Regions from separate parts of the Homo sapiens genome. Here all the other regions are linked to region 2. The links are contacts of gene promoters, found by promoter capture Hi-C in blood cells and fetal thymus (Javierre and others, 2016). All regions are on one chromosome and are shown on one strand. Each heading gives the region's core, a stretch centred on a gene start or on the middle of the fragment in contact. The rest is flanking DNA. Distances are from core to core; before and after follow the strand shown. Region 1 holds the start of SENP3 (SUMO specific peptidase 3). Region 2 holds the start of ACAP1 (ArfGAP with coiled-coil, ankyrin repeat and PH domains 1). Region 3 holds the start of CD68 (CD68 molecule).

Region 1 (4,431 bases), core at 1,074-3,573, 230 kb before region 2:
CTTCAGCTCTAGCTTCCTCCTCCCCAACTACAGCCCTATGGAAGAAAAGGCAGCAGTATTCTCTCCACATCCCCAAGGCCCCAGCCCTTCTTTCAAGGAGGGCTTTCAAGCCTCACCTGGAAGGGGTGGAAAACTCCTGCTGGAAAATGTCCTCCAGCTTCTCTACTACCTCATCAGTGCTGAGGGGTATGAGGCTGCCATACGTTTGAAGGAATTCGTCCAAGATGCCTGGTGGAAAGGGAGAGAGGAGGGGGTGAGGCCTCCAGACTCTCCTCTAGGAGTCGGAGAAGGGAGAGAGGCTAGTTGCTTAAGGGCTCCTTACTCTGTACGCAGGTCACATGCTCCTCTCGCAGGGGGCTGTGCTGGCCGGCTTTCTCCCCAGGCCTCTCTGCCTCTTCTGCCATGCCCAAATCTGAGCCCTGAAAAAGCTCCTGGGCCACATGGTCCCCGATGCTGCACACATTGCTGATGAGGATGCTGGCATCAGGGGGTGCCAAGCTGCGCTCCCCTTCTGGCCCAGATTGTCCCCCAAAACCGTTGGGCAGAGTACATGAAAGGAGGCCTATAGGGCAGGGGAAATGGAATGGGCATGAGAGACTGGCCTGGGGAAAGCACAATGGGATGCACACAGTTGACTCATGCATGCAAATAAGACCGCAAGAAGGATACACTGAAGCAGAATCCACCAATGTCAATCCCACTCCAAGAAATGGGGACCCCATAAGCATGAGATAAACATGTCCAAGAGATTCTACAGGGATGGAGAGAGAGTTCCTACTCATAGACAGGAAGAAAGAAAAAGGATTAGCATTTAGAAATGAAAACTTCGGGATATTTGTCACCACTATATGCCAAACACCCAGCATAGTACCCAGCATATTGTAAAGGCTCAATGAATACTAGAATATGTAATAAAGACCTAGAGAGCCTGAAACTGTTTGGCTGGAGTTCTCCGAAAGGGAAATATTCTTTCACAACTGTAAGATGATGTACTCCACTACTGGGAGAGATCCCATCCCGTCACTTTGGGAATGGTACCCTCTGGAGATGTATACACGGGGGTTCTTATACTGAGAGGCCGACAAGGGATTTCGTGTGGACAGGATTTTTGTAAACCACATCTCCCTTTCTCATCTGCGCTCAAGACCACGGGATACCTACTTAGGGCATCTGTTTCCTAGCTCTGCCTGGGAAACTGCCAGGCTCACTCCCAGGCTTACTTTCTGCTCAAAGTGGGGCTTAATGGAGACATTTCGCAGCTCTTCTGGAGCCGGCACTCTTCCATCCTACTTTCCTTAAGCCCAGCTCTCACCATGGCAACAGGCTCCTGGTGCTCCAGGCTCTTAACCCTCCCTAACCCCTCCCCCGCAACCCCACACCCCTTTCCCACCTTACCCGAGTCAGGGTCCAGAGGAGACTTTGGAGTCCACCTGAGTCCATCTTCCTCCATGGGGGGCCCAGAGGGCACTGGTGGAGACCCTCTCACCCCATCCTCAGCCATGAGAGCACCTAGCAGACCCAGCCGGGGTGGAGGTGGCCCCCGGGGGGAGTCAAAACGACAACAGGGGGATGGCACCTGTGGCGTCGCACCCCCTTGCTGGGGTGAAAGATGGTTCTTGGGGTGTGCGAGGCCCCGCCGCCGGCCCCGGTGGCGCCCCCAAAGCTTCCAGTGGAATGTCAGCGAGGTGCTTTTTGAGTAGAGCAGCATCCGGAAGGCTCTCATGGCTCGGCGGCGGCGCTGTGAGCAGGTTTTTCGATGAGTGGGGCGGGAAGGGCGGGGCCGCTGGGAGGTTCCCAGCTGACTCCATCTTGGGGGCAGCCTCCAAGCTGCCACTTCCTCCTCTTCATCTTCATCCTCCTCCTCCTCCTCTTCTTCCTCCTCTTCACTTGCTGAGGCATCAAAAGAGGGTCGGGGGACAGGGAGGCGTCTGGCTGGCACTGTGGTCCCTGACCCAGGATCTGGCCCAAACCCTCCACCTGACTTGAGTCGGGGTTTGGGAGGTGGGGGCCAACGAAGACGCTCCCGCCTGGGACTTGAGTAAGCTGGGGGTATGCCGGGTCCAGGAGGCTCAGGCCCCCAGGACCCGGTCCCTTGTATAGTCTCTTTCATCTTCCAGTACCCTGAAAAACAAAAGATCAGGGTATCAAAATCTAAGCATCACCCCACCGCAGATCCTGCCTCTCTTCCTGGCCATGCCTCCTCTGGATTCAGATGCAAATAAAGAAAAGAGGAAAAAACGCAAAACTCCTAACTTAAGATCTTCCCGGTTAACGCGGTCCACAAGGGGCCCTTCAGGGTCTGTGCCATCATCTCTCCCCAGTCCAGAGACAAGGGAAAATGGCTAAGCAGCAGGCCTCAGAGATCTTATTTCTAAGATCACCAGGCCAAACCCAATAGCACTGCCAGGTTCTACGTCTTTATTTTAATACCACCAGGGCTGTCCTTTGAGGGCCCAACAAGGGCAGTTTCTTTCCTCAGGGACATGATAACCGTGGTACTTGAGGAGAATGCAACTTGCACGTGGAAACTGGACTGGAATGGGAGACAGTTCTCTAACACCCTGGATGAACGGGGGGCATGGGAAGGCTGCGGTCATCTCAAGTGCAGATGCCAGGGATATGGTTCAGGGGGCAGAGGCTGATAAACGGGGAAGAACTTTGAAGGAAACTTAAAGAGAACCGAATCAAGACGCTGGGACAGAACGGAGCGCACAAGCCAGGCCGGCCCAGCCCCCTCCTACTTCATCCTCGGGGACCAGAATGCAACCCGGCACCAGTCCGGTCCCACGAGCTTGGATGGCTCGGCGCACACGGGCCTTAAGAAGCCCCTATGCGGGCCTCTGGGCCCCGGTTCGGTGGGAGCGAGGCCCAGGAATGGGAGAGGCCAAGGCAGGGCTGGGGGGAGGGGAGGGGGCGTCCTCACCGGGAGCGGGGAAGCCGGGCGGACGGGCCCGAAGGCGGGCGTCTCCGGCCTCAAGCTTCCCGGCTCATCTCTCCGGCGACGGCGGCGGCCCCGCCACTCCTGCTGTCTTTAGGCGCAGCCGTCTCAATTCAGGATTCCAACGCTTCTGGGCCGCGTGCCGCGCCGCCGAGCACCCCGCCGCGCCGCCTCTGGCTCTGCTTCAGCTTCAGCTTCCACCTCCACCTCCACCTCCGCCACCGCCGCCACCAGCGCCACCGCCGCCGCCGCCACTCCTCCCCCCCTCCTCCTTCCCCTCCCGCGAGCCCCGGGCCCACCGGCAGCGGTGGCGCACGATTAGTACGTCACACCCGGCGAAGAGCGCCGGCGCGGCCACCAAGCGCGCGGTCCCGTCTACCCGAGGACGCCGGCGCCACGGGACTGGCCAGCCCAGAGCGCTACGCGAGGCTGCGCCTGCGCACATCCGCCGCCCGGCCGCGCGTGGCGGCCCCGCCACTTTCCCTTTTGCGCCGCGCTCTGTCTTCTCCGCGCTCGCGGGCCTGACCCTAGCGGCATCCCCAGTACCTTGATCCGGCGGGGGGCGCGCCACAGGAGAGCCAGGAGGGCGGGAGATCCCCGTACGAGGACCGGGCTGAGGCGAGGCAGTGGGGGAAATGGAGCCGGGGTATCATTCATTCTATTTTATTTAACTTTAAGCAGGGCTTGATCAGAAAGAAGAGCTCAGAGGAGTGAGGCAACACCAACACCAGGGCGTACGATACACCCGAGGCTCCTCCGACACCAGTTCCAGCCCGGAAGGGCTTGGAATGGCCTGCCACGCCGGGGCAATGGAGCGCGTGAAAGCCAAACCTTGGGACCCGAAGAGTAATTTGACTGCGAAGGCACCGTCATCGTCGGGCACCCCCTGTAGACGGGCGCATAATAGCTACATCTCTGGAGATAGTGATGGAAACTGGGGTCCGATAGATGGAGAGAAGGACGTAGGATAAGGCTTCTTGTGGGGTGAAGAGGCAGAGGGCACCTGGAGAGAGGTGTGGCATGGAGAACCAGGGGTTTTCCCTAGCAGAGGGCGGCTTCGTGGACTTCGGCCAACCGGCGGGTGCTTCCCTCGAGCGGCCGCTAGATGGTGGTGCTGTTCTGGATGCTTCCAGTGGGCCCCGACCAGGTCTGGACAATGCCTGGCGCCCGTCCCCCGCCCCTCATCTACACACACGCAAGAATTCGGAGCTCCATGGGGAACAGAAGCAAGATATCCGTAAAATCAAAGTCTAGGGGGTGGGAATGAAAAGGGAAAAGTGAGGAACGGGGAGCCAAACCCAGGAAGACGCCTCTGTTCCTGCACATTCCCTCTCCTTTATATACTCAGCTCTTGGCTGTCTCCAGTATGTACCCACCCTGGTCTTCCAAGCTGGGAGCCACTTTTTATAACACAATCACAGTTTCACAAACCCCAGGAAGGTTCCATGTGGAGAGAGGTTAAGTTTCGCCCTTGCCCGGGGAATTATGACACT
Region 2 (4,647 bases), core at 1,735-4,234:
TCAGCCTCCTGAGTAGCTGGGATTACAGGTGCGTGCCACCACGCCTGGCTAATTTTTGTATTTTTAGTAGAGATGGGGGTTTCATCATGTTGGTCAGGCTGTTCTCGAAGTCCTGACCTCGTGATCCACCTGCCGCAGCCTACCAAAGTGCTGGGATTACAGGCGTGAGCCACTGAGCTTGGCTAGAGTTTATTGGGGTTTTTTGTTTGTTTGTTTTTGTTTATTGAGACAGTCTCACTCTGTCGCCCAGGCTGGAGTGCAGTGGCACGACCTCCACTCACTGCAAGCTCCACCTCCCGGGTTCGCGCCATTCTCCTGCCTCAGCCTCCTGAGTAGCTGGGACTACAGGCGCCTGCCGCCACACCCGAATAATTTTTTGTATTTTTAGTAGAGACGGGGTTTCACAGTGTTAGCCAGGATGGTTTCGATCTCCTGACCTCGTGATCCGCCCACCTTGGCCTCCCAAAGTGCTGGGATTACAGGCGTGAGCCACCACACCTGGCCGAGTTTATTGTTAATTGTAATGTGACACTATTAATGTCCTGGTTTTAATAATGTACTAGTATTGTATAAGATGTCACCACTGGGGGAAGCTGGGTGATGGGTACATGAGACCTCTCCTCACTAGTCTCCTGAGTCAATAATTTACTCAAAATAAAAAATTCAGGCCAGGTGTGGTGGCTCACACCTGTAATTCCAGCACTTTGGGAGGCTGAGGTGGGAGGATTACTTGAGGCCAGGAGTTCCAGACCAGCCTAGGTAACATAGGGAGACCCCATCTCTACAAAAAATAAATTTAAATTTAAAAAAGCCAGGCGTGGTGGCATGTGCCTGTAGCACAGCTACTGGGGAGGTTGAGGAGGGAGGATCACTTGAGCCCAGTATTGAAGCATCTGGGATCACAGCTGTGGCCACTCCATCCAGTCCATTGTTTAAAATTATTATTTGTAGGCCGGGTGCGGTGGCTTAAGCCTGTAATGCCAGCACTTTGGGAGGCTGCGGCAGGTAGATCATTTGAGGTCAGGAGTTCAAGACCAGCTTAGCCAACATGGTGAGACCCTGTCTTTACTAAAAATACAAAAAGAAAAAAAATTATCCAGGTGTGGTGGTGCACACCTGTAATCCCAGCTACTTGGGAGGCTGAGGTAGGAGAATCACTTGAACCTGGGAGGTGGAGGTTCCAGTAAGCCGAGATCGCACCACTGCACTCCAGCCTGGGTGACAGAGCGAGACTCCATCTCAAATAAATAAAAATAAAAATAAAATTATTATTTGTAGAGATGAGGTCTCACCATGTTGCCCATAAAACAATGTTGCCCACTAAATTTGTGACAATTTGTTACACAGCAATAGAGAACTAATATATAGCAAGCAAATACATAATGTGTCAGAGGTAAATGTTGCAGAGAAAAGTAAAGCGAAGTAAGGGGAATGAGAGAGCATTTGAGTGTGTATTTGTGTGAACATGCTGTTTGATAGAGTGCTCAGGGGACACCTTACTGTCTTGAATTGAAACGTTTCACTGGTTTGTCTTCTAGTCAGCCTTTGGGCTCCGTGGGAGCAGAAATGATCTTGTCCTCCCTGAATGCCCAGGGCCTGGCACAATGCAGGAGCTCAAGAGCAGAACAAGGAAGTCCAAAATTAAGTCTTTTTTTTTTTGACACAGAGTCTCGCTCTGTCGCCTAGCCTGGAGTGCAGTGGTGCGATCTTGGCTCACTGCAACCTCCGCCTCCCAGGTTCAAGTGATTCCTCTGCCTCAGCCTCTTGAGTAGCTGGAGCTACAGATGGGTGCCACTAAGCCTGGATGATTTTTGCATTTTTAGTAGAGATGGGGTTTCGCCATGTTAGCCAGGCTGGTCTAGAACTCCTGACCTCAGGTGATCCATTCACCTTGGCCTCCCAAAGTGCTGGGATTACAGGCATGAGCTACCATGCCTGGCCCAAAAGTAAGTCTTGTTTTCCAAGATCCTGAGCTTCTTGTCGGTACAGAACCACCTTTTTTGCTTCTCTGCAGTCTCCAAAATATCTCCCCTACACAGTATTCAATAATCCCTGGGATGCATTCTGTGTCTCCAGCTTTCTCCCTGGCCCTACCCCTCTCAACCTAATCCACTCCTGGGTCACCTCTCCATGTCAGGGTCACCTTTTCCAGACGGGTCTCCAATTCTGACACTTCGGCTTCCACCAGCTCAATAGAGGCTCTGGGAAAGAGGGGGTCATGGGAAGAGAGCTTGGGTCCATCTGGTCTGTCTGCCTCATCAGGCGGGATGGAGTCGCAGGGCGGTGGGTACGGAGGAGAAAGCTGCAGAGTTGAGAGGCTCGCCCCCCACCCACCTACTTGTGCTCTGCCCGCTCTGCAGTCTGGGAGCTACCACAGCCCAGGCCAGAGCAGGAAGGGTAGAAGGAGGGTGGATGTGGCCAGGGCAGGAAGTTGCTAACCGCCCCAGAGCAGGTGCTGGGGGAGGGGCAGGGGTCCCACTGAGAGGCCAGAGGGAATGCCAGCTCTAGGGGTGAGGGAAACTGCAGAGGCCAGGAGGAGCATGCAGGGGCAGAGAGCATTGGAGTACCCTGCTTTCACAGCTGGGGTACCACTTTGGCCCACAGGCTCGCTCCTGCCTCTTAGAGGCCTGCTCCCTGGAAGGAGACCTGGCCTGGGGAAAGGTGTGTGTGTGCTGGGGGTGTTAGACTTTCCCCTCCTTAGCCCCCCAGACCAGTTCACACTTACCGGAAACGGGGTGAGTCCTTGAGACACTCCTCGAAATCCAGCTTGACCGTCATCTCAGCTTGCCTGCTGTGGGGCCAGCGGGCCCTGGAGGCCGGGCCCCTGGGGATGCAGGTGGAGGCACTTTCTGTCCCAGGAAGGGGAGATGAGGGGGAAGGAGGAGAGGGACCTCCGCGGGGAAGGGCCTGGGGGCACAATTCTTTCCCCAAGGGGAAAGGGGTGTCCTAGGAGGAGCTCTCACCCCACACTTCCAGGCAGTGCTGGGAGGGGCAGGGGCGGGGCCTGGGCGGAGGATGGGGGCCTGAGATCAGAGAAGCCACAGCCCCACCCTCAGAGACGATCTGCCAGCTCCTTCCTCCTGGGGCTCTAGCCTCTGTTTCTTTCTCTCTTCGTGGTTATCTTGGGGGCCTGGCAGATCTAGGTTCAAATCCTGGCTCTGTCACTTAGAGGTTATGTGCCCCTGGACGAGCTCTCTGATTCCTCAGTTTTCTCATCTGGAAGATGGGAATGATAACCCCTTCCTCCAGGGCTGTACGAAGTGAAGAAGGTGATAGCAGTAAATTCATGGTTCACTAAATTTATTTATTTATGAGACGGAGTCTCCCTCCATCGCCCAGGCTGCAGTGCAGTGGCGCGATGTCGGCTCACTACAACCTCCGCCTCCTGGGTTCAAGCAATTCTCCTGTCTCAGCCTCCCGAGTAGCTGGGACTACAGGCTCCTGCCATCATGCCCGGCTAACTTTTTGTATTTTCAGTAGGGACGGGGTTTCACCTTGTTGGTCAGACTTGTCTCGACCTCCTGACCTCAGGTGATCCACCCACCTCGGCCTCCCAAAGTGCTAGGATTACAGGCGTGAGCCACTGTGCCCAGCTGGTTCACTATATTAATTGCATCAGTCATTGTCATCCTGCTACAGCTTGGGCCTGCTCCTGTGGAGTCCAGTACCCCGGACTGCTCCCAGCTTTCTTCGTTTTGCCGTCATATTCATGGTTCCTGTGTGTGAACTCCCCTTCCTCCTCCCCTCTCCTCAACGACTGAGCAGGCCCAGCCTGAGCACCCGATTCACAGCTCCCAGACTCTTGCTCTTCTGCTCTTTATTTCTATTCATAGGGTGGTCATGAAGGGAAGGTTGCCCCCACTCCGCCCCCAACCAGCCCCATTTTCCATTGTTTGCTTTCCTTTTCTTGAGTCCATTGAAGTCCCAGGGTTTCATCTGGAGAGAAGAGTTTGAGTTCATGGCTTTCTCGTAGCAGGCATGAGATCTTGTCCATGTGACTCTGGATCCCCTAGAACCTCCCCACTCAGCTCCTCTACCTCCCTGGCCAGTGTATGCATCCCCTTGCCTCTGCCCAGGCTCAGTGTGCCAGGCTGTGCTTGTTCTGGCTTGAGGAGTTGGGGTTGCTTCCACTCTCCCTCTCTGAACTCCTTGGGCTTTGCCAGCTCAGCCCCCCAGCCACCAGCTGGACACCACTTGAGACTCACTGTCTTTGGAGGACAGAGAAATACCTGGAGTGGGGTGGTGTGGCAGAGGAGTGAAGGAGGAGGCATGGAGCCAGTGTGTGGTGCCAAGCTGGAGGGGGTCCCAACCGCCTCTGAGTCTCCCTGGTTCCTCGCCTGTCCAATGTGGACCTTGGACTTGAGGCTGTTCAGGGCCTCTCCTTCCACCTGTTGCTGATGTACTGGCCTGAAAGAATTGGAGGGCTGGGAGATGGGAGCTTGCCAAGAGACAGCCCCAGGGAGATGGTGGCCTGGTGCCCTCAACAGGCTGCAATGTTGTCATTGTTGCCATCAGGGAGCTCTCCGTGGCCTTGTGATCCCTAAAGGGGCCTCCCATGTGGTCCAGTAGGTGGACTTCAGTGCTTACGGGGTTCTCAATCACCTAGGTCAAGCTTGTGGAGCCTAGAATCAGGGATCAGGGCTCGGG
Region 3 (3,545 bases), core at 1,034-3,533, 240 kb before region 2:
CCAGGCTGGAGTGCAGTGGCGCGATCTTGGCTTAGTGGCGCGATGACGGCTCACTGCAACCTCCACCTCCTGGGTTCAAGCAGTTCTGCCTCAGCCTCCCAAGTAGCTGGGATTACAGGCCAGCTGGGATTACGCCGCCACACCTGGCTAATTGTATTTTTAGTAGAGACAGGGTTTCACCATGTTGGCCAGGCTGGTCTCAAACTCCTGACCTCCAGTGATCCACCTGCCTCAGCCTCCCAAAGTGCTGGGATTACAGGCATGAGCCGTCATGCCCGGCTTTCTTTTTGTTCTTCAAGAAAGGGAAGGAAAATAACATTGTCTTTGAGCCAGTTGCGTGTCGAGGAAATAAGGGTACCCCCCCACCACACCCCAACCCCCTCAGTGCCCTGGGGTTTGAAGCAAATGCTCAGAGGGCCTGGTAGGCGGATGGGCGTCTCCGGATGATGCAGAAAGCAATAAGCACCAGGGCGAGGAGGCCAAGAAGGATCAGGCCGATGATGAGAGGCAGCAAGATGGACCGGTCACTGGGGCAGGAGAAACCTGGCGGAAGGATAGGGCAGGTAGGTATTTGCAGTGACGTGCTGGTTGGGATAAAGGTGGGAGGAGGGAATGGGGGGATGCTGGGGAGTAGGAGATTGGTGAGGAGCTCACCGCAGTGACTCAGCAGTGATAAAAGGGGGAAACTGGCAGAGTCTTGTAGAGGATGGAAAGAAAGCTGCCCTGTAGCCATGACAAGCTGGGAGAGCGAGATTTGGGGGGTTAAGAAGAGAGATGAGTGGCTTATGGGCCTGGGGAAGGGGTTTTCAGTGCAGTGGGAGGATTCTAGGAGGGAAGGAGTAGGTAGGTCTTACTTTGCCCAAAGACCCCTGTGTGGGGCAGCTGAGCAGCCTGGAGCCTCAGGGAGAGCAGGTCGAGGTGGACAGCTGGTGAAAGAATGATGCTCGAGTTGCTGCAACTGAAGCTCTGCCCCAGGGGTGCTTGGAGATCTCGAAGGGATGCATTCTGAGCCGAGAATGTCCACTCTGGAGGAGTGAGGAAGGGTCAGATCCTATCCACCTCCCTGGCCCCAGCTTAGTCCTTTCAGGAACCCTGGCGTCTAGTGGTAGCAATGAGAAAGGGAAGGAGGTTACTTACGTGCTGCGTGGGGGAAGGACACATTGTACTCCACCGCCATGTAGCTCAGGTAGACAACCTTCTGCTGGAGGTCCTGTGGGGCGAAGAGGAAGGCGCAGGTGGTATCCCTCTCCACAGAGGAAGGAGTAGCGTGTGGGATTGGGAGGGGAGGGGCGCCGGGAGGCTGAGTGAGGGGTGAGACTGAGGTCATGGCTATACCTGCATGAATCCAAAGCTGAGGTGTCCATAGGGGAATGAGAGAAGCAGGTGGGGATGGGCACCCTCACAGCTTCCCTGGACCTTGGTTTTGTTGGGGTTCAGTACAGAGATGCCCCAGGCCTGCGGAAGTTAAAGACTGGAAGGTCACAAGACTGCATGCGATGCCGGCCAAGGTTCCCTGTCCCCTCTTCCTTCTTCCCTCTGAGCCTATATCCAGTCCTGCCTCCCTCCCCTCTCATCCCCCAGTTTTAGCTTTACCTCTCCTCCACCCTGGGTTGTGTACATGACTCGAATCTGAATCTGGGCTTGGAGGTGGACACAGGGCTGGGAACCATTGGTCCACGTGTAGTCTCCAATGGTCTCCTTGGAGGTTGGGCTAGGACTCGGAGAGGGTGGAGGTGGTTCTGGGTGGGCAGAACTGGTGAATCCTGGGCTGGTGGCAGTGCTGTTGCTTGTTGGATGAACCGTGGCATTTCCATGACTAGTGGTGGCAGGACTGTGAGTGGCAGTTGAGGGTCCCTGGCTGGTGGCAGTGCTATTGCTTGTTGGATGAACTGTGACGTTTCCATGGCTGGTGGTGGTGGGGTTGTGAGTGGCAGTCGTGGGTCCGTGGCTGGTGGTGCCTGTGGTGGTTGTCCTGTGAGTGGTGGTTTTGTGGCTCTTGGTAGTCCTGTGGCTGGTTGTTCCAGTGCTCTCTGTAACCGTGGGTGTCACCGTGAAGGATGGCAGCAAAGTAGCTGATTTTTTGTGAGGACAGTCATTCCCTGTCCCCTGGGCTTTTGGCAGAGAGGAGATGGTTAGCAACCCAGGGCAGGCTCCCTCCCAGGGGCCCCCTCCCCTCAGCCTCCTTCCTCCTTACCTGCCAGTAGCCCCAGCAGGGCCCCCGAGAAAAGCACAGCCAGCCTCATGGCTGAACCGCCTCACCCAAAGTCCAGCTAGGCTGTCTGCACCAGTTGCTCAACCCTGCTCCCTCAGCCCTCTCTTGGAAAGGAGGAAATGAAAGTCTCACTTCCTGTACTGGAGATGATCCCACCCACAGCCTGACTCAGGGGCCTCAGCTCTAGCCACCTCTCTCTTAGTCATTAGTTTTTGTAATTAAGTTAGGGGACTGTTGGCCCTGCTTCATCAGGGCAAAGTCAACAGTGTCACATGGGTGCAAACGGAGTCCTAGGGCAGTTGATCCACAGGGATCCATGTGTCAAACTCAGCGAAACTTGCTTGGCAGTTGTGGCAAGTAGCTATGGGAACAGCTGAGGTACAGGCCCCTCCCTTGGTGGGGAAATCGGTTTCCACTCCTTTCCCCTGGACCTCTGGGCTGACCCCTGTACTACTTCCTCTTGGCTGAGGCATGTGAGGGGCTTGTGACCATCCACACCCAGCCCTTTACAGAGGGGCAGCACTCCAGTCAGCATTGTCATTCACAGAGCCGAGAACATGGCTTTCCAGCGTCTGAGAACTCAGATGGTGACAAGAAAGCAACAGCCCAAAGGTAACCATCTGCTGGGGAAGGGGGGAGCAGAGATGCACCCAGTAGCAGGTGGGAGAGGGAAGGGGAGGTAAGAAATGAGAAGCCCAAACAGGCAGTTTCCAAGTCATTTTATTCAGAATTTTGTGTTTGTTTCCTGAATCAATAAATACTATACAAAACAATGTAAAAATGGCTACCATTTTCTCTCCCCTGCTTCCCCCCACCTGGGGACAACCCCCTGGGCAACCTCACTTAGGGGTTTTAGGGGTTCTCCCTCCAGATTTGGTCCAGCAAATGAGGCTGAGTGACATAGTCCCTTGAATCACTTTCAAAGGAGCTCAGCTGAGGTGAGGAGAGCCTCTGGGATCTGGAGGTTACTAGGTTAGGGAAATGGATTAGTGTTTTTTTTTTTTTTTTGGGAGAAGAGCCGGCGCCTGGGGCAAGAGCCTACCCCAAAGAAAAGGGTGTCTAAAATGTTCACGGTTCCTTCTTTTGCCTCAAAAAGTGACATTTATTCAAAGAAAAAAAATGACAAGATGTCCATCCCTTGGCTCCCTTCCCTCCCCCCTCCTGCTGCTCCTCAGCCCCCAGAGATTGAGCCCTGGCTGGGGCTGGGTGGCAGGACAGCCCCTCAGATGAGGTCAGCAACATTGAGGGGCATTTCCTCAATGGAGGTGTTGTAGAAGGTCTCAATGTCTCGAAGAGTCCTCTTGTCTTCTTCTGTCACCATGTTAATAGCCAC

The links. The method cuts DNA at HindIII sites, captures the fragments that hold promoters and counts their contacts. A CHiCAGO score of 5 or more calls a contact.
Region 1: a contact is called between a fragment that was not itself captured here and the fragment with the promoter of ACAP1 in region 2, in 11 of 17 cell types (fetal thymus, total CD8 T cells, erythroblasts and 8 more). The highest score is 13.4, in fetal thymus.
Region 3: a contact is called between the fragment with the promoter of CD68 here and the fragment with the promoter of ACAP1 in region 2, in 14 of 17 cell types (fetal thymus, total B cells, neutrophils and 11 more). The highest score is 11.3, in fetal thymus.

What each region holds. Positions count from the first base shown.
Region 1 is chr17:7,560,756-7,565,186 of GRCh38, reverse strand. SENP3 (SUMO specific peptidase 3) reads right to left here and starts at 3,268. Exons shown (of 11, transcript NM_015670.6): 1 at 2,924-3,268; 2 at 1,396-2,121; 3 at 323-562; 4 at 117-228. The coding sequence starts at 2,110. SENP3-EIF4A1 (SENP3-EIF4A1 readthrough (NMD candidate)) reads right to left here and starts at 3,195. Exons shown (of 22, transcript NR_037926.1): 1 at 2,924-3,195; 2 at 1,396-2,121; 3 at 323-562; 4 at 117-228. It overlaps TNFSF12-TNFSF13 (TNFSF12-TNFSF13 readthrough), which reads right to left. Exons shown (of 11, transcript NM_172089.4): 11 at 3,586-4,431. The coding sequence ends at 4,354. TNFSF13 (TNF superfamily member 13) reads right to left here. Exons shown (of 6, transcript NM_003808.4): 6 at 3,586-4,431. The coding sequence ends at 4,354. RefSeq lists enhancers at 1,802-2,498, 3,765-4,014 and a silencer at 3,125-3,204. The HindIII fragment of the contact is 1,315 bases long and covers 1,666-2,980 here.
Region 2 is chr17:7,334,866-7,339,512 of GRCh38, reverse strand. ACAP1 (ArfGAP with coiled-coil, ankyrin repeat and PH domains 1) reads right to left here and starts at 2,984. Exons shown (of 22, transcript NM_014716.4): 1 at 2,726-2,984; 2 at 2,144-2,201. The coding sequence starts at 2,778. RefSeq lists enhancers at 2,018-2,779, 2,780-3,541 and a silencer at 2,913-3,122. The HindIII fragment of the contact is 9,667 bases long and covers 1-4,614 here.
Region 3 is chr17:7,578,376-7,581,920 of GRCh38, reverse strand. CD68 (CD68 molecule) reads right to left here and starts at 2,283. Exons shown (of 6, transcript NM_001251.3): 1 at 2,195-2,283; 2 at 1,594-2,111; 3 at 1,336-1,455; 4 at 1,138-1,210; 5 at 855-1,025; 6 at 1-543. The coding sequence starts at 2,243. The coding sequence ends at 410. EIF4A1 (eukaryotic translation initiation factor 4A1) reads right to left here. Exons shown (of 11, transcript NM_001416.4): 11 at 2,915-3,545. The coding sequence ends at 3,435. It overlaps SENP3-EIF4A1 (SENP3-EIF4A1 readthrough (NMD candidate)), which reads right to left. Exons shown (of 22, transcript NR_037926.1): 22 at 2,915-3,545. RefSeq lists enhancers at 1,389-1,458, 1,559-1,618 and a silencer at 3,094-3,282. The HindIII fragment of the contact is 9,128 bases long and covers 1-3,545 here.